7 separate regions of the Homo sapiens genome follow, and regions 1, 2, 3, 4, 5 and 6 are each linked to region 7. Evidence: promoter capture Hi-C in 16 types of primary human blood cells and fetal thymus (Javierre and others, 2016). All regions are on one chromosome and are shown on one strand. Each heading gives the region's core, a stretch centred on a gene start or on the middle of the fragment in contact. The rest is flanking DNA. Distances are from core to core; before and after follow the strand shown. Region 1 overlaps TMEM72-AS1 (TMEM72 antisense RNA 1). Region 2 overlaps TMEM72 (transmembrane protein 72). Region 3 overlaps TMEM72 (transmembrane protein 72). Region 4 overlaps RASSF4 (Ras association domain family member 4). Region 5 overlaps TMEM72-AS1 (TMEM72 antisense RNA 1). Region 6 overlaps TMEM72-AS1 (TMEM72 antisense RNA 1). Region 7 holds the start of ZNF32 (zinc finger protein 32).

Region 1 (3,377 bases), core at 437-2,936, 1.2 Mb after region 7:
TTGAAGTGAATATCAGAGATGAAGATTAATTAATTGCAAAGAAAAATTATTATGCAATGATCTGTACAATGTCCACCATAAGTCTTACCAATTCCTTGGACTTCTCCTAATGGAAAACCATATAACAATTTCAAATGGCATTTTACCAGAGTCCAGGGCTTTTCAAATCCATCTGCACTCTGGTTCCACAAATGAAAAGCATGCAAGAATTAGAGATGAAGTGTTGGGTGTGTGATGCTTTGTATCTCAATTCCATGGATAGCTGACTCCATGCTGGTGTCCAGGATGGCCTGTCCTCCAGGTTCTCAGGCTCTGGATTGTGCCTCTAGCACTCACTTCACTGTGGATCCCAATCTGAGGATGGCTTTACCAAGCGTGCACAAGCCCCTCCATGGGAGAAAAAGAAGTGATCTCGATTCAGAGGGTGGACTCTACTTGAGCTCCTTAGGCAGGTGTGAAGGTCGCTAGGGCTTGTTCTGACTCCATAAGCAAAAGCAGCAGTTCTCTGAGAGCCTGACCTCATAAAAGGATGGGCGTGGTGGGAGACAGGGCTCTCCTTCCCTCTTCCTTCTCTTTCACTCATTAATCTTCCTGGACTTTTCCAACTTCCTGCATTCCCAGGAGACAATACACCTGATGTGCAAGCTCAGAGCTTCTTTTGTTTGATTGGGCTTTGATTTTGTTTCTAATACATTTTCCTCTGCAGGAAGAAGTCTAACTCCACTAATTTATTCTAGGGAACCATCAAGTGACATCCAACAGTGTGCATTCAGCACAGCAAGAGGGCTGCAGACACAGAGCCCAGGCCACAGGCTGTCCAGCTCACCCCACCACACTGATTACAGGACAGAGCTTCTGCCTTCCAGCTCTGCGAGAATGATGGTGCCAATGAGATGGGTGGTCAGGGAAAGCAGAGCCACATGGAGGGCATGGCCTGTGTACCCTGCAGAGGCCATGGCAGGGCCTGGTTCTGGCTGCTGCAACTATATCACAAACACATATGGGAGTAAACAGACTCCTGAAGTTGAAAGAAACTGAGAACTGCAAGACAGGACCACTTTATGGAGGACCTGAGATTCTGCTCAAGAAACTAGAGTAGGACAAGACCTACCATGCTGGACTTGGTCACTGGAAAGCAGAGAAGAGTCCATGTGCAAGCTGACTCGGCTGGACTCCCAAACCCATGGCCCTTCGCTATACCCCCAGTCAAAACGGAGACAAACTTGGTCACAGGCAGTTATGCACTGCAGTTGACTTGTGCTAGCTTGTGAGAGCTGATGGTTAAATTTTCAGCTATTTTTAGAGCTGGATGTTAAACAAAGCCATCATTAAGTTATTTTCAATTAAATAAATTAGATAAAGTGTAATAAGTACCCCAAACTCATCACATCCTAATTATTTGACTACGTTTTCCTCTTATCTCTGCTCTTGGTCATTTAGTGTCTATTGCACTACACAGGGGAGATGCTGTCTAACATTGTGATTCTAGGCATCTCTTCCCAGCCCTGCACTCAGTGACATCATGTGGGTGGCTTGAAATCAGCCACAGTAGGAGTATTTATACCACAGAAATTGGCAAATGCTATAGGTAAGGGCTTTTTCCCTGGACAGTTTTTGTTAAATACTTACCTGCCAGCACACTATTGTCCCAGAGCTTCATGAGGGCTGCCTACATGACCTGCAGGGGAACTAGAAAGCTGTTGAAATCTTACACTGGGGAATAACATGGTTATTCTGTGTTTTTGAGCCACCCCCTGGCTGTCGTGTGGCAGACAGTCAGCCAGCAGTCGATGGCACCGCATCAGAGGATAAATAGGCAGACCCTGGGGCCCCAGCAGCCGATAGGGTGGTAGCCAGGGAGGTGGAAAGGGCAGGGCTTCTGTTGAACTGGGAAGCACTAGAGGAAAACTAGAAGCAAATGCTGGCCCTGAGGTTTTAAGCCTGAGATACAGGCAGATGCCAATGGTATCAGCCAATTTAGAAGCCTCAGAAGGCTTAAAGCAAGGACCAGGACTGAGAAGAGATGAGCCGCTTTAGGCTGTTCTGAAGCAGAAGAAACTGATGGTGCCCATGAACTTGAATACAGGGTGCAGGCTAAGAAGAGATTGGAGGACAGATGCTCACATGCTTAGCTAGCAGATCATGTCTGTGCCCAGTAGTTTTTACAGTTTTACAAGCCTGTCACTCCCTGTCACTCTGAGAGCCTGACTTCATAAAAGGATGGGTGTGGTGGGAGACAGGCCTCTCCTTCCCTCTTCCTTCTCTTCCACTCATCAATCTTCCTGGCCTTTTCCACACCACACCCAGAAAGCAGGGGTGTAACTGGGTCCACCAGGGCAGCAATTGCAGGTTCAGCAAGGAGCCTCTGGATCTGTGGCCAGCGCAGACCAGACAGGCACACTGTGCCAGGGTGGGGAGAAGTGGAGATGCAATGGTGACCCCAGGCACAGGCCCCCCTGGGAGGAGGATGTGGGAGGAGAAGGCTGCACAGGTGAGGGTTGAGCCTGGGGTCAGGCTCTACCTCCCTATGAAGTGTGCCCCGCCAGCTACTGGCTCTTGGCCACCCTGGGAGGGATGAGGTCAGCTTCCCACTCTGACCCAGGACTGGGGAAGCAGAATATGCCTCGGTGCAGAGGTGAGGAGACAGGAGAAGAGGCCACACCTGTGTGGGCACACCTGCCAGCACTGGGACAAGGTCTAAGTAGGGTGGAGTGGGAGGCTGGGAGGAGTTCAAGCTAAGAAAATGGGGTGACCCCAAGGCAGAGGCCTGTTGTCCAAGTGCAGCTGTTCAGAGGCCATTTTCCCTGGTTTGTGGTAGGAAGGGCCTTCATGTGTATGCGGTTCCTGCTCGCCCTCTAGGCAGCCTGAGGCATTGGAGAATACAGAGCCAGAGCAGGAGGACCAGGCAGTGTTCTGGGCCTGCTCCTTACTAGCTCTGGGGCCAGCCTCACACAAAGTGTGCCATTCACGTCTTCATTCAGTGCAAATATCTTATATGTGCCAGGCCCTGAGAACACTGGGGTGAGCGGCCCCACCAGGTCCCTGCCCTGACAGAATGCACACCCCAGTGTAGGGAGGCAGACAATGAACAGGAATGTGAATGAGAACACACAGGTATGTCCCTGTGACTTGTTTAGTCATCTATAAAATGGGACCAGCAACGTCACCAGCCCTACCCATGCAACAGGACTGTGGGACATCACAGATGGGACCTGCTGGAACTCAGGGGAAACATCATGAACTCACCCACAGCTGCCTTTGCTCTCCTTTTTTTCTTATAATAAAATGTACATAACATAAAATTTACAATTCTAACAATTTTTAAGTGGCATTGGGGACATCTACAATGTTGTGCAATCACACCATCATCCACCTCC
Region 2 (3,464 bases), core at 217-2,716, 1.3 Mb after region 7:
GGACAAAGAGAGACACACCCCCTATCAAAGCCCTTCCCCACCACTGGGCAAAAGCTTACCCACGGGTCTTACCAAATGGGAAAGTTCTCCTAGGTCAAAATCACATAGTGCTTGTTCCTGCCCCAGCCTAGTCACTTGCGTGATATATGACCTTGGGGAGCCCCTGACCCCTCTGAGGCTGCACTTTCTGATCTGTATGATGGGGACCTGCTGGCCAGGTGTTTGGACAGATTAAGGATGCAGGAACTGAGCATGGCTAAGTGGAACTGAGGATGAAAACCTCTCAGCAGAAGCCCCCATGACACACTCCAGAGCTCAATGGGAAGCTGGGTCATTTCAGGAGCACTGGGCTGGGTTCAGCCGTGAGCTGGCCAGTGGGCTCTTCCAGCATCTAGGCCATGAGTTAGATCATGAAGGGCTGCTGGATGGTTTAACCCCACCCCTCCTGCTACAGGATGGGGCACCTGAGCTCAAATGCAGGTGGTGACCTTGCCCAAGGTCATGGTCAGAGGGACAGCCAGCCCGGAGCCCTGGTCCTTCAACTTTCACAAAGGCCAGGGCTCTGGCCAAAACCTTCCCTGTCTTCCAGAGTAGGCAGCAGGAAGAGGTTCAGAATTGCTCTGCTGAGGCTCTGAGTGGAGGCACTGAGGGAGGAGCCAGATCCAGCCACTTTCAGAACCACGTTGTCGTCTACACATAAGAGAATGATGGCCAAGACCCCCAACAAGCAAAAAAGCCATCCTGGGGAGAGGAAGGCCACCCTAAATAGGTTTCCATGTCTGTTGATCTGAGTCCACCCTGCTCCCTCTAGGCTTTGGTTTCCAAATCTGTAAAATGCCAAGAATCCCACAGTTCCCCCAGCCACACTCCACCCAGAGCTGAGGCCCACCTCCCGTCGAGAGGCTGTTCTAAGATGTATGTACCTATCCTTCTAATGGATTAGCTAGAGACAGTTTAACAGTCTGATTTATCTCAGTCACCGGAAGAGTCTGCAGCCCCTGACACTCCCATGTGCACGCACACACACACACACACACACACACAAACCCGTGCGCGCGCACATAGGGCTCGTCTTAACCACAGCCTTTATCTCCGCACAGGGACTGCTGTTAATGCTGAGAATGGGCCTCCCTCTTGGTTTTGATAGGAGATTCAGACTAAAAATAGCCATGAGCTCCCTTCTAATGGCCAGGCTTTCAAATGATCTTGCTCGGGCTTTCTAGAGTGCTGGGAGGGAGTGGGAGGCTAGAGAGAGGGGTTTGGTGTTCTTGGGCAAATCTCGAGTTTCTTCCAGCATCACTGAACTCCTGGCCTATTTCCAGTACATAGGATTTGCAAATTCCTTATTCTCCTAAGCCTCTCTTTTGTTGAAATCTTCTGTTGAGAAATCCAGGCTTCATTTACAAGGGCACTGCTGCTAGAGAGGAAATAAGACCGGAAATAGAGGGCCTCACTTTGCAGAAACCCTAGGGAGGTGGGGAGTGTGGATTTCTTAAAAGCTAGGAAGACATGTGACCCAAGGGCACTCAGAGTGTCACCTGCAGGGACCAGGCAGCTGCTAAGAGGCTACAGCCTCTCATTAGCAGCCTCTTCCCTGGACCCCCTGCAGACAGGATCAGGGCTGTCAAAAGCACTGACGGCACCTGGTGGGTGCCTCTGCCAGCATGTCAAGGCCCTATGACTGTGGATGAAGCCACAGCCTTTGGATGAAGCCTCCTTAGGATTCCTCGAAGTCCCGCAGACCATTCTTGCCCCACCTCAGTGTCCAGCCCCATATCATGAGGGGTTGTAGAGCACAGACGGATCATTGCCACCACCAAATTGGGATAAACAGGCCTCAGGTAGTTGCACCTGGGTGGAAGTGTTTCTAAAATTAGAAAATTCCCTCCCTCTGGAGCAGTCATGTGGTTTCCAGGACATAACAGACCACTCCCGCATTGTTTACACCGGGTTCATTTGCTTCACCTCCCTGGCTCAGGATGTGGGGTTGGGGGGCAGGCGCCCATGGGTCCATGTGCATGCATGCGCCCGTGTGATGTCTAAGTGCCTCAGTTGCTGAGACGCGGCATCCATTGCCGCCCATGGAAGCAGACACAGCTGGGAAATGGCACACAGGCTGTGAGCACTCCACATTCCCCTGTGCGGATGCCGGAGCTCCTGCCTGTCCATCCCTCAAAGCAGGTTCTCCCCGTGTCCACTAGAGACAGGGTAAAGATGTCCTGAGTGTGAGACTCAGGCCCCAGAGGAGGCTCAGCCCTGTGACAGGTTCTCAGCACAGACCAAATGGCAGGAAAGGGGTCCTGGGAAATGGATTTAACTGAGCCTGGAGCACAGCGGTCCAGGGCACTCCTCCCCTGTGAGATGAGAAAGGACCTGTCCCACAGCATTGGTCCCAGTTGCAGGCTAGGAAAGCAGGGTTGGCTTCCCTTTGAACTTCAGCCATCCTCTTACCCTTTAACCTCAGGGGAATCTTGAATAACTCCTTTGCCACTCCCCAGCCCCTGCTGAGGTGGCCAGGAAGAGCATGGGAAGAGCCCCCTTTGTGGGACAGAGGAGGCACCTCTCAGGCCGTCCAGGCTGGGCATGGAGGGAAGGGGAGACATGTCCCTGAGCCCCGCCTTGTAGTGAAAGCCCTCCCCTCAGGCTGTGTCCTCACACACAGATGTGCATGGGCTTCCCCATAAGAGGCTTGCTCAGAAAATGTCTCTGGGCACTTGAGCAAGGCCTCCCAATTTCCCTCAGAGCAAAGAGGCTCCAGCTTGAGGCCCCACTGCCCCATCTCCAGGGCTGAATTTCACTCTTCCAGCCTCTGCCCAGAGCAGAGGTTGCTGAGAATGAACATGATTATTTGAGTATTTACTCAAATAATACTCAAAGCCCAAGCTTTGCACTGTGTATTTTAAATGCAGTATCGCATTTCATCCTCCTGTCATTGGGAGCATCATCATGTTCATCCTCATACCCACTGTACAGGAAGGGAAACCGAGGCCTGATGGAGCGAAGCATCTTGCTCAGGGTCTCACACCAGGAAGCAAGAAGACAAAGTTCCACCTGATGATGGTCTGCTCCTGAGACTCCACTCCTAATCGTTATTTCCTCCACCTGAATCAGGATTAAAAAGCATGTCCCATAGTATTTTGATGACCCCAAGATGCAGGATGCAAAACACACAGAGGAGAGCAGGAGAGGCTTGATCAGAACTTCCCCATCCTCTACCCTCATGCTCCTGCCCTTGGTCAGTTCTGATCAGTCAGGTGGGGTCATGGTGAGGACACACGTACAGTGAAGCACATAGTCAAGGATCACCAAACACTTTCTAAATCTCAAGACACCGATATTCATTGCAGCTATCCATTCTCTATCTCAAGATTGCCACACATGCTTTAACCAGCACCACCGTGACCTTCTCTAGCCAAATCTGCTCCTGGAACCCATCTGGGGACAGACAAATCTGCACACATTTC
Region 3 (3,091 bases), core at 529-3,028, 1.3 Mb after region 7:
TCTACCTTCAGGTGGCAGCTGACCTGTGCTTTTAGCAGCCTCCACCCTCCCGCCTCAGGGCAGGCCTCTTGCTGTGTTTGGGGGCTCACACCTGCCATCTCCCAGATGCGGTTCAGCCTCTGAGCCCATTTCCACACTGCCATCTAGACACACAGATCTCTCTGACAACCTTCAAGAGCTTCCACCACCTCTGGTCCACACCCTGTGCCATATTCTGGCCTCTGCCTCACTTCTTGCCACTCATGTACAGCAGGAGGCTTCTGACTCTTTTTCAAACTCACCAGCATGGCCTCGCCTCCAAGCTTCACTCATTCTGTTGGGTGCCCAAGCACCGTCCACCCATTTCCACCTGCCCAATGCCTGACACTCCTTCCTGGCATTCTGCCCTGGCAATTGTGCCCTGAGCCTGGAGCCCCTGCTGGCTGGCAGTGACTTCTCCTGGTTCTGAACACCCTCCGTGTCTAACTGACCATGTCCCTAGCCGCTGTGCACCATTGCCCTGGGATCCAGAAGCAGGCGGGCCTTCCTCCTCTCCAGTGGGTCCCTAACTCTCGGGTCAGGCCATGGCAGGTGAATGCAGGCTGCCTTCTGCCCAGAACCCTGTTTTGTCTCTGTTTTGAGGGGACCCTATGCCCATGTGGTCTCTGGGTGGTCCAGTCCAGCCTGGGGTCCCCTGCCCCTTGCTGTGCCCTGTTCTCTAACACCTGCAGGATCAGCACTCAGTACCTGCCCTGTCTGTCCCTCCCTGCCACTCAATAGCACCAGACAGGAAGTCTGAATGAGTCGCTTTATTCCCCAAGCCTTGATATACCCCTCTGTCCCAGGGCATAGAAAAAGGCAGTGGCAATTATTTTGCAAAACACGTCTTGATGTGCCTGTTAGGCACACAAGCTCTGGAGCCTGCGTGCTAGGTTCTGATCTTCCCCCTGCTACTGATAAGGGGCCATTGGTGATGGGGCAAACCTCTCTGTGCCTTAGTTTCCTCATCGGTAAACTGACAGTAATTATAGTGTTTATTATAATATAATATAGTACTTATTATAAAATTGTTGCAAGGACTAAATGAGTTGATATTTGTAAGGCCTTTAGAATTATGCCTGGCCCATAGCAATCATTACATAAATGTTAGTTATTATCATTTTAAAACCAAGGGGTAAGAGTTAGGCTCACACTGGGAGGCATAGAGACTGAGAGGAGTGGAGATCACTAAATGATCTAACTAATCACAGGGAGAGAGAAATGATAACTAGAATTGATATAATCACTGTGTGCCAAGCATGGTCCTAAGTGCTTTACAAATATCATTTAATTCTTAGAACAGTTTTACTGTTGATGCACTATAATAACCCCAGTTTACAGCTGAGGAAACTAAGACAGAGAAAGGTCACACCTCTCACCTGTGATCACACAATCTAGAAACACCCATGGCTCTGAGGAAACCCTGACCCCAAGCCACCTTCTGCACAACACTATCCACTTTCATTCCTTCATTTATTGCAATGCTCATTAATGGAGCCCAATAAGCCCGACCCACTGTGAGCCTGGGCTGTACAGAAGAATTAGACAGGGAACGCCCTCTGGGGGTTCACAGACTAGTGACTCTGGTCATATGGTACCACATGGAGAAGTAAGAGGAGGTCACCAGACAGACTGGAGAGGGAAGGGGAAGGCCTTCCAGGAAAAGCTCACTTGTGCAAAAGCCCTGTGGCACCTGATAGCTTCTTGTGTTGTCAAGGGAACATGGAGGATAGGCAGTGAGACCCTCCGTAAGTACATATTCCATTTCCAAGGATTCTGATGTGAGTCTAGGGGTGGCCTGGGAGCCATGAATTCTACACATTCCTCAGGAGATGCTGATTGCAGGATCCATGGACCACACTGGGAGCACAAGGAGCCTTTGAGGCATCCTGTATCAGGAGGAACATGATCAGATTCAGGTGTCAGGCAGCCCAGAGTGACACAGTGGGGGAGCAGGAGACAGGCCTGGGGTAAGTGAGGAAGTGGAACTGGTGCAGGGGTCCAGGGGGCAGGGCCTGAACCCAGGCAATGCCCATGAGGTCAGAGAACAGGAGCGATTTGGAAGGTATTGAAGGAATGTAATCAACAGCTCCTGGTGACTATTTGGATAATAGGAAAAGGAAGAAGGAAAGGGTCAGGAACAGGTCCAGGTTTAAGGCTGGAACACAGGCAGTGGGTGTCCATCCTGGTGACCAGCAGGTAGAAGGATGTGCCTGCCAGTGTCACACAGGGTGCCAGGTGAAGGCCATGTCACCTGCTGGCCACGGTGCCCTCCCCACCCATCTCTGAACCCCAGACCCCACCTCTCCCCAGCATGGCCCAGTCCGGAACACGCCATGTCCTGGAGACAGCCCGTGGTGAATGTTGTCTGGGGGAATCCAGGTGAGTCCATTGGCTGTAGATGTGATGTCAGGAGGCCACGTGTGAGAAGACAGCCCTCAGGAAAGCAAAGGAAGACAGAGGCGCCAGCCTCCCTCACCTGTCTCCACCTGCAGGTTTACAGGAGCCGCTGTCTCCATATGTGAAGGGGCCTACTTTGTGGCTCAGCTGCTGGCCATCTGCTTCCAGTAAGTAGTTTCCAGAGAGACCCCTCCATTGTCCACCCCAGCCCCAGACACCACAGATGTCTCCACCCAAGAGCCCACAACCAGGGGATGTCCTGCTCCTGAAGCCACTGTGGACAGGAGCCCCCCACCGAGGTACAATCAGCCTGGCCTGGAGGTGGGCACAGGCCCAAGGGGCTCCATTGCCTTCTTTGCCCTGGTCCCAACCAAGAGAACCAACTGACACAGTCATTCAGGGCCTGTCCTTGCCCAGAATCCCCAGAAAAGTCCAGCTCCCCCTCACCAGGAGCAGCCAGTCACTGGGCCCCAGTGTCTGAGCCATCTGCCATGGGGTGAGGACCCTGCAGAAGGCCCAGCTGGGAGTGAGCAGACCTGGGTTTGGGAACTGGCTCTGTCTCTTCCTAGGGCCCGGGGGCAAGTCAGGGGCAGTATGTCTCTACACCCCTTCGTGGGGCAGGAGTGCAGACCCTGCAGGATCTCGTGAGGCCCTTGCTGCTTCCCAGCCTACA
Region 4 (3,005 bases), core at 114-2,613, 1.3 Mb after region 7:
CTGGCACAGCGTGCTTCATTTTATTGTGCTTCTTGTTACTGTACCTTGCAGATTTTTGCAAATGGAAGGTTGCTGTTCAGCAACCTTCCATTTGCAAAAATGTGCACTTTTTTTTTTTTTTTTGCTGCACCTGCGGTTTCTGCAAATTGAAGGTGTGTGGCAACCTTGTGTTGAACAAGTCTATCGGTGCCGTTTTCCAACACTATGTGCTCACTTTGTGTCTCTGTGTCAGATTTTTTAGCAATAAAGTAGTTTTAATTAAGGCATGCATATTTTTTAGATGTAGTACTGTCTCACCCTTAAGAAACTACAGTATAGTATAAACATATCTTGTATATGCCCTGGGAAACCAAAACATTTGTGTGACTCACTTTATTGAGATATTCGCTTCATTGTGATGGTCTGGACCTGAACTCACAATGGCTCCCAGGTGTGCCTGGACTTATCAGAGCGGGGATACTGAATAGGTCCTTGAGCTCTCTGAGCCTTAGCTACCTCCTTGGGAAAACAGAGCTAGGATCTCAGAGGAGGAATATGCGAATCTAAACTTGAGTTTGAAAAGCAAGGAGAGGTTCACCTGCAGAGGAGTCACATTCGCTGGGAGGCACCAGCACCAGGGGGGTAACATGTAGGTTTTCAGGAATCATGGAATCCTTTGAGTCAGGGCTCTGTCTTTTCTAGGTGGGTAACTCTGAACAAGCTGGTTAACCTCCTAAAGCCTCTGATTCCTTTCTAAGAAAAGGGGACTAGTTATAGCTGCCTCAAAGGGTTGTTATGAATATTAAATCAATGATTGTATGTAAAATCTTAGCGGGTTCAATACACAGCTAGGGTTTATTGAGGACGGACCTATTATGTGTCAGGCAGAGTCCTGGTTGATTTCATATATGGTGTCTCTTAGGCAAAGGCAAGATACCTGCAAAAATATAATGTGTCCCCCCACCCCCCAGCCAAATTGTGAAGAAGCTCTGTGACTGGAGCACATGGTGCTTGTTAGGCAACCATAGTGTCATACGTGCGAGACAATGAGAAGAACTACAGATGTTATTGCACAGTCCCCAGGAAGCCTTCAGATACTTTTAGACCCGCGCTTTCAAACAGTGCTTCTCACATTGAACTGCACAGATCGCTTCGCCTTGTGTTCTACAGACGCAGACTCTGATTCAGATGGTATGGAGCAGGGTAGGGAAGGGAGCCGAGACTGTATGGATGCAGCTGGGCTAGACGTCACTTGGAGGTGCAAGGGTTTTAGAAGTCCGTTCCTGTAGGCAGCGGTGCAGACTACGGATTAGAGGGACTGAGACCAGAAGGGAACAAGCTGGGAAGCTGATATGGTGTGATCAGTGCCTCTACTAGGCACTGCTGGGAGAATGAAGAGGAGGAGACAGATTGGGTAACTTTCAGCCTTAGAATCAACAGACAACTGGTGACTTAATCAATAGAAAGAGTGATGGAGAGACTGATTCCCCCACCCTTGTGAATGACTTCCATGGCCCTGGTTCCTCGGGTCCAGAGAGCTGGCCCTTCTGGGTGTGTAGACATCTTCCTTAGGCCTCTGGAAGGAGTGCACTACTACAGCTTCCCGGAGTGTCTCCCAGGTCTGGGAACAGCTTATGTGTGCATCAGCGTGAATGGACAGGTGCAGGTGTTCCCAGATCTCAGCGTCACCTGCTGCCTTGGTCTGTTCACCGTTGTGATGTCAGTCCCTTGTCCCCTCTGGGCCTGACCTGAACTTCTCTCCCTTCCTGGTACAGACCTCCGTGTTTACTCCAGCCTATGGATCCGTGACCAATGTGAGGGTCAACAGCACCATGACAACCCTGCAGGTGCTCACCCTGCTGCTGAACAAATTTAGGGTAAGCCTGGTCAGGAGCAGCCTTGCCCCAGGATGCCAGTGGTCTGCTATTCTGTTGGGGGTGGGGTTCTGGGGAAAGCTGCCCGTGGCAGAAGCTGCCTGGGCAGAAGGTCTAGCAAGGGTCCCTCTGCTGAGCTTTGGTTTCTCGGATTTCAAGCAAGAGGAGGTTGGGAGAGGACAGGTTCCTTGCAACTTGCGTGTGTGTTACTGGGGGTGTAGTTACTGTCAGGGGACCCTCTCAGTTCTCTCCCATCTCCAAGCACCGTGATCTGACTTCCTGTGACTGCCTGTGCAGGTGGAAGATGGCCCCAGTGAGTTCGCACTCTACATCGTTCACGAGTCTGGGGGTAAGTACCTGCCCCACTTCTGGATCGTAAAAGCAAAAGGTCTCTACCTGTTCAGCAAGCCCCCTCCCCACCAACCACTGACTGTACTCCCTTCCAGATGGGCTCCGTGCTGGCTTGCCTAGTGGGCTAGGGCACACTGTGCCTCCCAGCATGAACATTTCTCCCCCACCCAAACCCAGGCACACTATGGAAGCCTTGAGGAAAAGAAAACATACTTTTGGCTTCGAATTTAAAGCACATTAAAATGTCCTTGGATTTTCTAGGTCGCTCAGTACATTAAGTTTAATTCTTTCAGGATTCTGAAGGAGAATCCCACCAAGCTATAGGAAGCCTCCCTCTCCGCCTCTTCCAGAGAAATGGATGGGTGGGTACCTAGCTCCTTGGCGCCGAGTCAGGAAGGGTGGGGTGCGTGTCGCAGTGCATCAGGCCCTGGCCCTCCCGTCTCAGCTTTCCTTTCTCCCACCCCTCAGATCTTGTTTCTCTTCAAGCTGCACCTTTGCTGAATGACACTGTAGGGGAGGAAAATTATCTTCTCTTTCTACCCATTTAGGTTCACTGGCTGGGGCCCTGTATTTAGATTAACAAAAGACAGATTAAGGAGAAGAACAAACAGAAGTTTGTTAACACTTGCATCATGCATGCCCTTTGGAATATCCAGGGATGAATGGTCAGAATTTGGGCTTAAATAGCATATTCACAAAAGAGCAGTAAGTTTTTAGAGAAGTGACAAGACAGAGGAGAAGGGCCTGAGTTTCTGGGGAGGCGAAGGGTGGGAAGGTCACCGCACGGGGAGCTGCGGGAAG
Region 5 (3,338 bases), core at 794-3,293, 1.3 Mb after region 7:
TCCTGGAATTCTACCCCATCTCACTCCTCACCAATCTCTCAAAGAGAACTTATCCTTTGGTATGTCCAAATGGGAAAATCTCTTGCTCCATTCCCTGTGTGCCCAAGATTTCAAGCTTTCTCTGCAAGCTGGTCAGCCATCCAGCTGTCATCTGTCCCTCAAAGCCCCGGGCTCAGCTGCTAGCCTGCTGATGAACAGTCAGCTGTTTGACTACCTGGAAAGGGGAGCAAAAGGGTAGTGTTCTTGGGAGATAAAGAGGAACTGTCTCTGTTGGCCAAAATGGGGATTTCCCATGGGACTTGCTTGACTGGCTGAATGGCTTGTTACGGTCCACAGAAGAAGGAAGAACCGAGTCATGATCTTTGCACAGAAGAGAAGAGGTATTTCGAGAAGCCAAGTTGCAGTTAAGTGGAATGTTATGCCCTGAGTTTCCCATTATGACAAGGGTGAGACAGCTGCATAGAAAGAATAGCAGCATCCAGGAAGTCAGGAGTCCAGGAGTATGGTCCCACTTGACTCTGCTGGGATTTGGAGTCTTGGGTCATTCCCCACATGAAACCCAAGGGATAAGGCCATCCCAAAAGGTCCTGCCAGCTCCAAGCCTCAGGGATGCCCAGCTGTGCACATTACCAGGGGGCATTTGCCCAAACTTAAGAGCAAGCCCAAGGAAAATCCAGCACTGAGTCTAAACATATGCTGTGCAATTCTTTTTACAGTATGAGCTTCTGGAAAGCTTGCATAGTCTCAGGACAGGGATCTGGAGGAAATGGGGAGCATCAGAACCACAGAAGGTTGTACTGGGAATAACTGGGGCAGGAGCAAAAGCCCATCCAAGCAGATGTTTACCACCTCATTGATATGGAAGACTCTGTGAGTTTCAAATCAAATTTCCCTTTAAAGAGCAGATAAAGAGTAAAGCAAATGGGCCATGCCTTTGATTATTCATTTGTCCCTAAATAGGTGCTTCTACCTGAGGCTGCACACGCTCCGCCAGGGGTGAGGATGCCACCAGCCCACTATAGCTTCAGTTTCCAGCTTCCAGGAAACTGGATGAGGTATTTGCAGGCCCCAAGTCTTGAGTTCCTCTTTCCACATTGAAACATGTTCCTTTCTTTTAAACCAACAGCACCAGCATAAACTTAGAGAATAGGTTGCTAAGGGCAAAAGTCGGTTTAACTCAGCAAACATTTACTAAGCACCTACTGTGTGGACCAGGCATCACACAAGGTGCTGGGCTGAAGGAGTGAGTCTGGCATGCTGTGTGCTCTCTAGACAAGCCAAATGTGTGACTGACATGAGGCAGACATGGCACTACAGTAAAATCACAAACAGTATGCTATGAGAGAGGAAGTCAGGCAGAGGGAAGTCTGGGAAGGTAGATTTGAGTTGAGCTTCGGAAGCAGAGCTGGAATCTTATCATGCACATCATTGTCTATCTTGGGACAAAGGAAGCATGGCCAAGTCCATCAGAGTCTGAAGCAGGTGGATTTATTTTCCATATGTAACAAGGCGTTTGTGCAGTAAAAAGAATATAAGGCAAGCAGGCGTATCAACAACAATGATGATAATCACTGAGAGCACTGAGACCTCAGTGGATTCAGTGCTTTGCCTGCTCCATCTCCTCTAATCCCCAGAGCCTGTGAGGCCAGGTCCCTTACAGCCCCATTCTATAGATGGGAAACCACAGTGCGTGGTAATTTGCACACAGCTAAAAACAGGTAGAGCCTGTATTCATTCCAGGCTCAGAGCAGAGATTCTTAATGCCATCAGGAAACTAAAGTCTGAGGCTGGCCACAGACCTCACCTGCCTGATGGCCTGGGCCTCTCTCCTCTCATCATCTGAACAAGGGGGGTTTTGACCAGGTAACCCCTAAGGTTCTGTTTCACTCAGTTTGGGCTGCCATAACAAATACCATACACTGGGTGGCTCAAACAACAAACATTTATTCCTCGAAGTTCTGGAGGGGAGGCTAGAAGTCCAAGATCAGGGTGCCAGCATGGTCAGGTTCTAGGGAGGGCTGGCTTCCTGGGTCACAGAGAGCTGCCTGTTTGCTATAGTCTCACGTGGAGGAAAGAAGTCATCTCTCTTATGTCTCTGCTTACAGAAGCACTAATCCTATGCAAGAGGGTTCCATGCAAATGATCCAATCACCCTGCAAAGGCCCTACCTCCTAACGCCATCACACTGGGGATTAGAGCTTCTACATATAAATTTAGGGGAATACAATTCAGTCCATAGCAGGTTCCCTCCAGCTAAGTCACCTGGGATGCTAAGTGTTCGGGGTGGGGTGTGGCAGTGCAGATGAAGAGGAGGAAAAAGTGGCTCATCAATGTGGGGGATAAAGGAAGCATGAGAAAGGGGAGCACTAGCTCAGGTGGAGAAGGCAAATGGAGCCACTCCCCACTTTGGTTGTGACTGCTGCTGACTGCTGGAGGCCTAGTGCCCTTTGAGTTTTCTCTGAGTGACTGATAATTCCTGAGCGGAGCTGGGCCCCAGCAGAGCCTGGGAGCTGTGCCAAGCTCTCCCTCCAGGCCCCAGCCGTGCCACCTCCAAGACCAGAACAAGAACCCTAGCCTCAGCAGGGTCTCCCCAACACCATGCAGATAAAAAGTGGCCAAGAAAATGTCACCTTAAAACTCAGGAACACAGCATGGACATCCAGGCTTCTCCTCAGTTTCCTTCTAAGGGCCCAGGGCTCCTGTTATTCCTGCTTGCTGTGCTCTAATGCCTGGGACTTACAGAGAAGGCTGGCAAACAGAGTCCAGCCAGCACCCAGCCTCCAAAAGCCTCTTGTGCCCTGAGCCCAGAGCTCACTGCCACCTCCCCGAGCCTCCAGCAGCCCATGGGGGCTTTTCTGGTCTCAGGCCCAGCTGCTGCTCTCCCCTTCACCAGAGCATTTTCAGTTCCCACTTCTCTGGCCTGAGTGGCCCCCTGTGCTCCTGGCCACACTCCTTCTCTCTCTCCCCATCTCTAGGTCCTCTCCCAGCTGCCCCAAGCCTCACTCCTCATGCATGGTGCTCTCCCGAGGAGCTGCTCTCCCAGACTTCCATCTCTCCAGCCTGTTCCCTCTCTCCCTCTTGAGACCCAGCTCACACATTGCAGGCCGTGATCTCGCCCCTGGAATAGACCCCCTCAGCTGCTGGGACTCTGCAGGGTTGTGGCAGGCATTGCACGGCTTCTCCCAGGGGATACTATTGACCCCGTTTTCTGATGGAGCTTGAATTGTCCTGGCTCATGTACCTTCCTCCCCTTGGCCAGCCATGTCCTGCATTGGGTTAGTCACAGTGGTCCACCCTTCCCAAGGTGCCTGCACCCTAGTCGTGGCCAATGGGAAGAA
Region 6 (3,283 bases), core at 655-3,154, 1.2 Mb after region 7:
CTCTATGAATATGAATGCAAATTTTGTGTGTGTGTGTATATACACACATATATATATATTATTTTATTTTGTTTTATTTGAGACGGAGTTTTGCTCTTGTCCCCCAGGCTGGAATGCAGTGGCATGATCTCGGCTCACTGCAACCTCTGCCTCCCAGGTTCAAGCGATTCACTTGCCTCAGCCTCCTGAGTAGCTGGGATTACAGGCACGCCACCACACCCAGCTAATTTTTGTATTTTTAGTAGAGACAGGATTTCACCACGTTGCCAGGCTGGTCTCAAACTCCTGACCTCAAGTGATCTGCCCACCTTGGCCTCCCAAAGTGCTAGGACTACAGGTGTGAGCCACCGCACCTGGGTCTATATATACACTTTATACCAAAATACACTTTAAACAAAATTTCGGCAAATGAAATCAAATCCAACAGTATGAAAGATCATAACCAAATGAGTTACATGCCAGAAATGCAAGGTTGATTTATAATTTGAAAATCAATTAATGTGATTCAGCATATTTTGAAATTAAAAAAGAGAAACCACAGAAGTGTCACAATAGACATAGTAAAAGCATTTTCAAAAATCTAACATGCATTCTGGACATAAACTCTCTCAACAAACTAGGAGTAGAAGGAGCTTCCTCAACCTGGTACACGGCCTCTACAAAACCTTCTGTCCACATTACCATTAATACTAAAAGACTTAATGCTTTTCCCCTAAGATGAAGAACAAGACAAAACTATGTACTCTTACAACTTCTTTTCAACATTTTTCAACATTTTCTAGCAAATACAATACAGCAAGAGAAAGAAATAAAAGGCATTGAGATTAGAAGGGAGAAGTAAAACTGTCTTTATTCATAGATAACAGGATTTTCTATATTGAAAATTCAACGTGGCCTACACAAAAAGATATTAGAATTAACAAGTGAGTTTAATAAGGTTGCAGGATAGAGGATCAATATACAAAAACCAATTGTTTTATATTTTCACTAGCAATGACAATCAGAAATTAAAATTTAAATCTAGTATCATTTAAAATAGCATCAAAAATATGAAATACTTAGAGATACATTTAACAAATGATATGAATGAACTGTACACTAAAAACCATAAAACATTGCTCAGAAAAAAATTTTAAAGAGCTCAAAAAATGGAAGATACGTTGCATTCATGGATCAGAAAATATAATACCACTAAGATGTCAATTTGCCCTCAAATTGATATAAAGATCAAAAGACCCCCTCCCTGTACCCTAGATTCCTCTCTACCTCCTGGCATCTCCACTTGAATATCTAATACCACTAATATGTCACTTTGCCCCCAAAATGCAAAAAAAAAAAAAAAATGAAACTTCTAGAAGAAAATATAGAGAGAACTATTTGTGAGAAGCTTACTGAGGCGATTCATTCAATGAAATGCCACTCAGCAGTAAAAAGAAATGATCAGTCCCCATATAAGCCCCCAAAGCAGGGAGTAGGGGGGTTTGTAGAAACTGACAAAGTTATTCTGAAAGACAAATGTCCCTAAATAAGAAAAGCTACACATGGCCCAGACACATAAGAGCAACTGAGATTTGACAAAGGTGCAAAGGTAATCCAACGTGGGAAAGATAGTCTATTCCAGTCTATCAAATGGAAACAATTTGATATCCATATGAATCAAAATGAATTAAATTCATATTTTGCAGCACCTACCAAAATTCACTCAAAACAAAACAATGAATCTTCTATAAGCATATATAGGAGGAACTATTTGTGATAAGCTAATGTGGTGATTCATTCAGTGGAATGCTACTCAGCAGTAAAGAGGAATGAACCATCGATACAAGCAACATGGAAAAAAGTCATAATCATTATGCTGACTGAAAGCAGCCAGACAAAAAAAAGGGTTTTTGTTAGATGCTATTTATATAAAATTCGAGCAGACTAAGCTATACTGATGGAAAGCAGATATTTTGTGGAGAGGCTCCCCATGTGCAGAGACGCAATGGGGAGGGCAGAATGGAGGACTAGAAGGGACAGGAGGCAATGTGTGGGGTGACGGATAGGGCCACTATAGTGATTGTGGTGGTGATTTCATAGATGTAGACATATGTCGGAACTTAGATCGTGCACTTTAAACATGTGCAATTTATTCTGTGTTGTTTATACCTAAACAAAGCTGTAAACATTCATAAAGAAGGAAGACAGGAAGGAAGGAGGGAAAGAAGGAAGGAAGGAAGGGAGGGAGGGAGGGAGGGAGGAAGGGAGGGAGGGAGGGGAGACGGAGAGGCAGGGAGGAAGGAAAGGGAGGGACAGAGGAATTTACACCCTTGTGGAAGGAAGGAAGGAGGTAGAAAGGGAGGAAGGGAAGGAGAAAAGGATTCACTCCCTTTTGTCACGTGTTCAGACTCTCAGAAAATATCACTGAGCGTTTTCTCTACAGAAGCTTTCTCCACCTGTCCTTTGGGACACCGTGTGCCTGTAGTTTTCCTCATACTTTCCTGGATGGTCTTTCTCCTTCCCCCAACATTGCCCCAACCTCTCAACTGGCAGCGCCCTAAAACTCAGTCTTCTTTTCTCTAACTCGCCTCCTTTGGTGAGCTCACTGGATTTCATAGCTCTGAATCTCATCTCTACACTGACCACCCTCAAATGTCTCCCTGTAGCTCAGACCTCCTCCCTGAACCCTAGAGTCCTCTCTACCTCTTGGCATCGTTGCTTAAATATCTAGTAGAGATCTCAAACTTGGCATTTTCAAAATTCCCACAAACTATGCTTCCCACTGTCTCCCCATCTTAGTAATTCCCACTGCTCGAGTTAAAAATAGCACACACACAACAAAACCAAAAAAACACAGAATTACCCTTGGCCCCTCTCTTTTTCTCGTTCCCCACTTTCAAATCCTTTGACAAATTTGTCAAGCACATCTTCAAAATTTACCCAAAATCCAACCACTTCTCACCACCTATATAGCTACAGACCCAGCTCAAGCCGGAGTGATTTAGTGTCTGGTCCGATCCCCGCCGCCTTCACCCCTGCCCGTCACTGGCCCTCAATAGAGCAGCTAGAATCTCTCTCACACACCAACTCTTCCAGCTTTTTTTTTTTCCTCTTTTTACAACATTGGCCAGAACCTCAAACACTGTGCCAAACGGAAACAGTTAGAATGGATGTCTTAGTCCATTTGGGCTGCTATAAAAAATACCCTAAATTGGGTGGCTTATAAACAACAGAAATTTATTGTTCACAGTTCTGGAGGCTGGGAATTCCAACATCAAGACACTAAAATATTTGGTGTCTAGTG
Region 7 (3,017 bases), core at 403-2,902:
GCTAATTTTTAAAAATTATTTTAACTTTTTTTTGTAGAGATCGGGTCTCATTATCCTGCCCAGGCTGGTCTCCAACTCTTGGCCTGAAGTGACCCTCCTGCCTCGGCCTCCCAAGACATGTAGGCATGAGCTACTACACCTGGCCCACATGATCTATTTTTTAAAAAAAATATTTCTTCTTACTTCAGGATCCTAATTACTGAATTCTTATACTTTTAAGAAATGCAGTGGTTCAATGCATACTCCTTGTTTCCCTCTAATTTGTCCTATCAAAATGCTGGCCTTCTGATTTAATGAAATAATAGTATGATGCTACCATTCTTTGTTTTGTCAACCTAAGCACCTGGTTCTTCTTGACAACTGCACATTCTGCTACATGCTGTGATGACCAGGAGAATCATTTAAATTTTTATTTGGAGGACTCACTTCCAACTTGGAACACAAGCTGCAAAGGAATTCCCTACCAGCATGCCAGCACATCATTTGGAAGTTCAAGGTATTCTTGCTCAACAGCTGCACACACATTAAAAGTCCCTGGGGTACATGGCGCCTGCTGCCTGGGGTTGGACTCTGTCGCCGGGGATTCCAGAAATTAGAGTAGAATTCACAGCTCTGCCTCTCCACCTGCTGTGAGGTCTTCAAGTTACAACTCCGCCGCCTATCAGGGACCTCCGTGATTAGTAAGGGAGAAATTGTCATATTTTTCTCCCTAGATCACAGGTCTGAGGAAGCAGTTTCCCCAAGATTTTGTAAAAGTGGCTTTATAATTAAAAACATTGATTTTCCTATTAGAAAGGCTACTATATCCTTTGGAAAAAGCTTAGAAGTAGTCCGTGAGTCTTGGCTTCTTGCCGTGGCTCCCCCAGGATATGATCTTGGGCGAGTAACCCAGCAGCCCTGACTCTGCTTCCCCACTTATTAAACAGGTTACTAACACTGTCCTATCAGGTAGGACAATGAGAAGGAAAGAACCAAACAAGAGGAGTATCAGACGAGACCACCAGACTTAAGATCTAAAATCCGGCGTCCTCTGGAGGGCGGATGAGAAGAGGGGTACACTTGGCGGTCTGGAAAATGTCCTGGGGCCAGTTTCAGGTTTAGGAGCTTGTGGGTAGCGTGGTTTCCCACACGCTGCCTGGCTTCCTACTCTCCCCCGCAGGGGCTGCCTCTCCTCCCACCCCGGAAGGCCGGCACCGGCTTCCCGCACTCGCTGAAGCCCGCACGGAGGCCGGGTGAGCCTGCCGCGGCCTCCCCCTCCCACGCCCCGACGCCATGGGCCCTGCTCCTCTCCGCAGACGCTGCCCTCCCGCCTCAGGCCCCGGGCCCCGGGCACCGGGCCCGCCCTGCGTCCTGAACCTCGGCATCCCGCTCTCCGGTCCACGGGACCCTGCTCTGCGGACCGCCGACCTCTCCGCTCGCGGCTGGCCTCCCTCGGGGCCCGGGCCGGCCAGGCCTGCTCATTTCCTTGGCGGCCGCTGGCATAAGGCGGCCACACGGAGGGCCCGGGACAGCGGTCTGATGGCGCAGCCCCGCCTTGCCCCGGCGCTCTGACCCGGCCAGCGGCCTCACTCACCGCAGCGGCGCGTGCCCGCAGACAAAGGCCGGCGCCGAGCCCGCAGCAGCGCCAGCGCCGGCGCCGGCGGAATGGACTACAACTCCCAGGAGTCTCCCCGCGAGCCCGCCCGCCGGGCCGTGGGTCTCGGCGGCCCCGGCTTCCCAAGAGCTCTGTGGGAAATGTAGTTCTCTGGCGCGCCCTGCGCTCGGGCCCCGCAGGTCCCTAGGGCGCGGGGACCTCAAGCCGTCCCGTTTGGACTGGTAATCCGGAGACTCACAGCGGTGACCTGTCAGCGGACGCGGAGCCGGGACGGAGCCACGGCCGCTCAGATTAGCAGGATCTGATTGACAGCATCGGGGTAGCAGACGCTGAGCCAGGGACTCAGGAATACAGGGTTCTTGCAGGGCGTCGCGGAAGGAAACGAAGTTTTTGGGAGAAATCCGTTTGATAAAGCCTTGGCGGCTTCGAGGTCATGTGTTGAGCCTCTGGCTGCATGAACAAAAGCGAAGCCCGCTTTCATGGAGCTTCTGTGAAGAGCAACAGGAACACAGGCAGTCCAGTCGTCCTGAGATACTGGGAGGAGCATGGTTGCTTTTGAACACGTAGGAGATAAAGCCTCTCTAATAATGCCTGTTTTTTTTTTTCCTTCACTCTGTCTCCCAGGCTTGAGTGCAGTGGCACGGTGTCGCCTCACTGCAACCTCCGCCTTCTGGGCTCAAGTGATTCTCCTGCCCCAGCCTCCCAAGTAGCTGGGACTACAGGTCTGTGCCACCATGCCTGGCTAATTTTTTTGTATTTTTAGTAGAGATGAAGGTTTTACCATGTTGGCCAGGCTGTCTGATATGCCTTAAGCCTCTTTTAAACGCACTTTTCCAGGATCGGGGCCACATCCTGGAGCTGTTCTGCCTGGCCGGGTGTATCTCTGGGTCCCTGCCTCTGGAGCCCCTCTCCGTAGATGTGTCTGTCCATCCTCTTTCGTGAAGGACTAATAAAGAATGCTTCCTCTTGCTATGTTCTTGTTCTCTACCCCAAAGCCACAGATTTGTTAAATCAAACAACTTAATTTCACTCAATATGCAAAGGTGTCTGTAAGTAATAAGTTGATTCCTAAATGTTAGCTTTTACTATTGCACATCATTTCTGAATTTCATTCAACATTTATCCGTTGAATCCATTTTAAGTGCTGACACTGGGGATACGAATGTGAGCAAGACACACTCCGTGCTCCTAGGGAGGAGCTGACAGTCTGGTGGAGCAAACAAACACCACCTTCCTCACATGGGGGTCGGGGTGTTGCACAGCTAAGTCCCAGAGTGTGTGGTGCAAACTGTCCTGAAGCTCCCCATTCCTGAACTGCCCCAGGTGGCTCCTCTCCTCACTCCTCCCAAGTCTGAGAAAGGGGTGGAGGGCGGCACACAGCAAAGGCCAAGGCTCAGAGTCCTAAGGCTGCGGCCTCTGCTTC

The links. Contacts are between HindIII fragments. The CHiCAGO score rates a contact against its expected background, and 5 or more counts as called.
Region 1: a fragment that was not itself captured here is called in contact with the fragment with the promoter of ZNF32 in region 7 in 1 of 17 cell types (M2 macrophages); the score reaches 5.7 in M2 macrophages.
Region 2: a fragment that was not itself captured here is called in contact with the fragment with the promoter of ZNF32 in region 7 in 6 of 17 cell types (fetal thymus, M1 macrophages, M2 macrophages and 3 more); the score reaches 7.7 in fetal thymus.
Region 3: a fragment that was not itself captured here is called in contact with the fragment with the promoter of ZNF32 in region 7 in 1 of 17 cell types (total B cells); the score reaches 6.6 in total B cells.
Region 4: a contact is called between a fragment that was not itself captured here and the fragment with the promoter of ZNF32 in region 7, in 1 of 17 cell types (naive B cells). The highest score is 5.9, in naive B cells.
Region 5: a contact is called between a fragment that was not itself captured here and the fragment with the promoter of ZNF32 in region 7, in 5 of 17 cell types (naive B cells, total CD4 T cells, total B cells and 2 more). The highest score is 7.1, in naive B cells.
Region 6: a contact is called between a fragment that was not itself captured here and the fragment with the promoter of ZNF32 in region 7, in 12 of 17 cell types (total B cells, endothelial precursors, neutrophils and 9 more). The highest score is 11.7, in total B cells.

The regions. Positions count from the first base shown.
Region 1 is chr10:44,888,539-44,891,915 of GRCh38, forward strand. All of the region lies in intron 2 of TMEM72-AS1 (TMEM72 antisense RNA 1), which reads right to left. Among named protein-coding and RNA genes, the nearest start is that of TMEM72, 21 kb to the right of the region's middle. The HindIII fragment of the contact is 5,924 bases long and covers 1-3,377 here.
Region 2 is chr10:44,912,435-44,915,898 of GRCh38, forward strand. The region is part of intron 1 of TMEM72 (transmembrane protein 72); the gene reads left to right. The region is part of intron 2 of TMEM72-AS1 (TMEM72 antisense RNA 1); the gene reads right to left. Among named protein-coding and RNA genes, the nearest start is that of TMEM72, 2.8 kb to the left of the region's middle. The HindIII fragment of the contact is 2,829 bases long and covers 53-2,881 here.
Region 3 is chr10:44,929,485-44,932,575 of GRCh38, forward strand. TMEM72 (transmembrane protein 72) reads left to right here. Exons shown (of 5, transcript NM_001123376.3): 3 at 2,514-2,585. All of the region lies in intron 1 of TMEM72-AS1 (TMEM72 antisense RNA 1), which reads right to left. Among named protein-coding and RNA genes, the nearest start is that of TMEM72, 20 kb to the left of the region's middle. RefSeq lists an enhancer at 2,876-3,091. The HindIII fragment of the contact is 2,956 bases long and covers 301-3,091 here.
Region 4 is chr10:44,987,520-44,990,524 of GRCh38, forward strand. It overlaps RASSF4 (Ras association domain family member 4), which reads left to right. Exons shown (of 11, transcript NM_032023.4): 7 at 1,755-1,856; 8 at 2,151-2,202. Among named protein-coding and RNA genes, the nearest start is that of DEPP1, 10 kb to the left of the region's middle. The HindIII fragment of the contact is 6,881 bases long and covers 1-3,005 here.
Region 5 is chr10:44,947,647-44,950,984 of GRCh38, forward strand. All of the region lies in intron 1 of TMEM72-AS1 (TMEM72 antisense RNA 1), which reads right to left. Among named protein-coding and RNA genes, the nearest start is that of TMEM72-AS1, 10 kb to the right of the region's middle. RefSeq lists an enhancer at 186-425. The HindIII fragment of the contact is 2,624 bases long and covers 732-3,338 here.
Region 6 is chr10:44,867,167-44,870,449 of GRCh38, forward strand. All of the region lies in intron 2 of TMEM72-AS1 (TMEM72 antisense RNA 1), which reads right to left. Among named protein-coding and RNA genes, the nearest start is that of TMEM72, 43 kb to the right of the region's middle. The HindIII fragment of the contact is 1,038 bases long and covers 1,386-2,423 here.
Region 7 is chr10:43,647,229-43,650,245 of GRCh38, forward strand. ZNF32 (zinc finger protein 32) reads right to left here and starts at 1,653. Exons shown (of 3, transcript NM_006973.3): 1 at 1,574-1,653. All of the region lies in intron 1 of ZNF32-AS3 (ZNF32 antisense RNA 3), which reads left to right. It overlaps ZNF32-AS2 (ZNF32 antisense RNA 2), which reads left to right. Exons shown (of 3, transcript NR_047558.1): 3 at 341-791. RefSeq lists a silencer at 1,159-1,678. The HindIII fragment of the contact is 4,172 bases long and covers 818-3,017 here.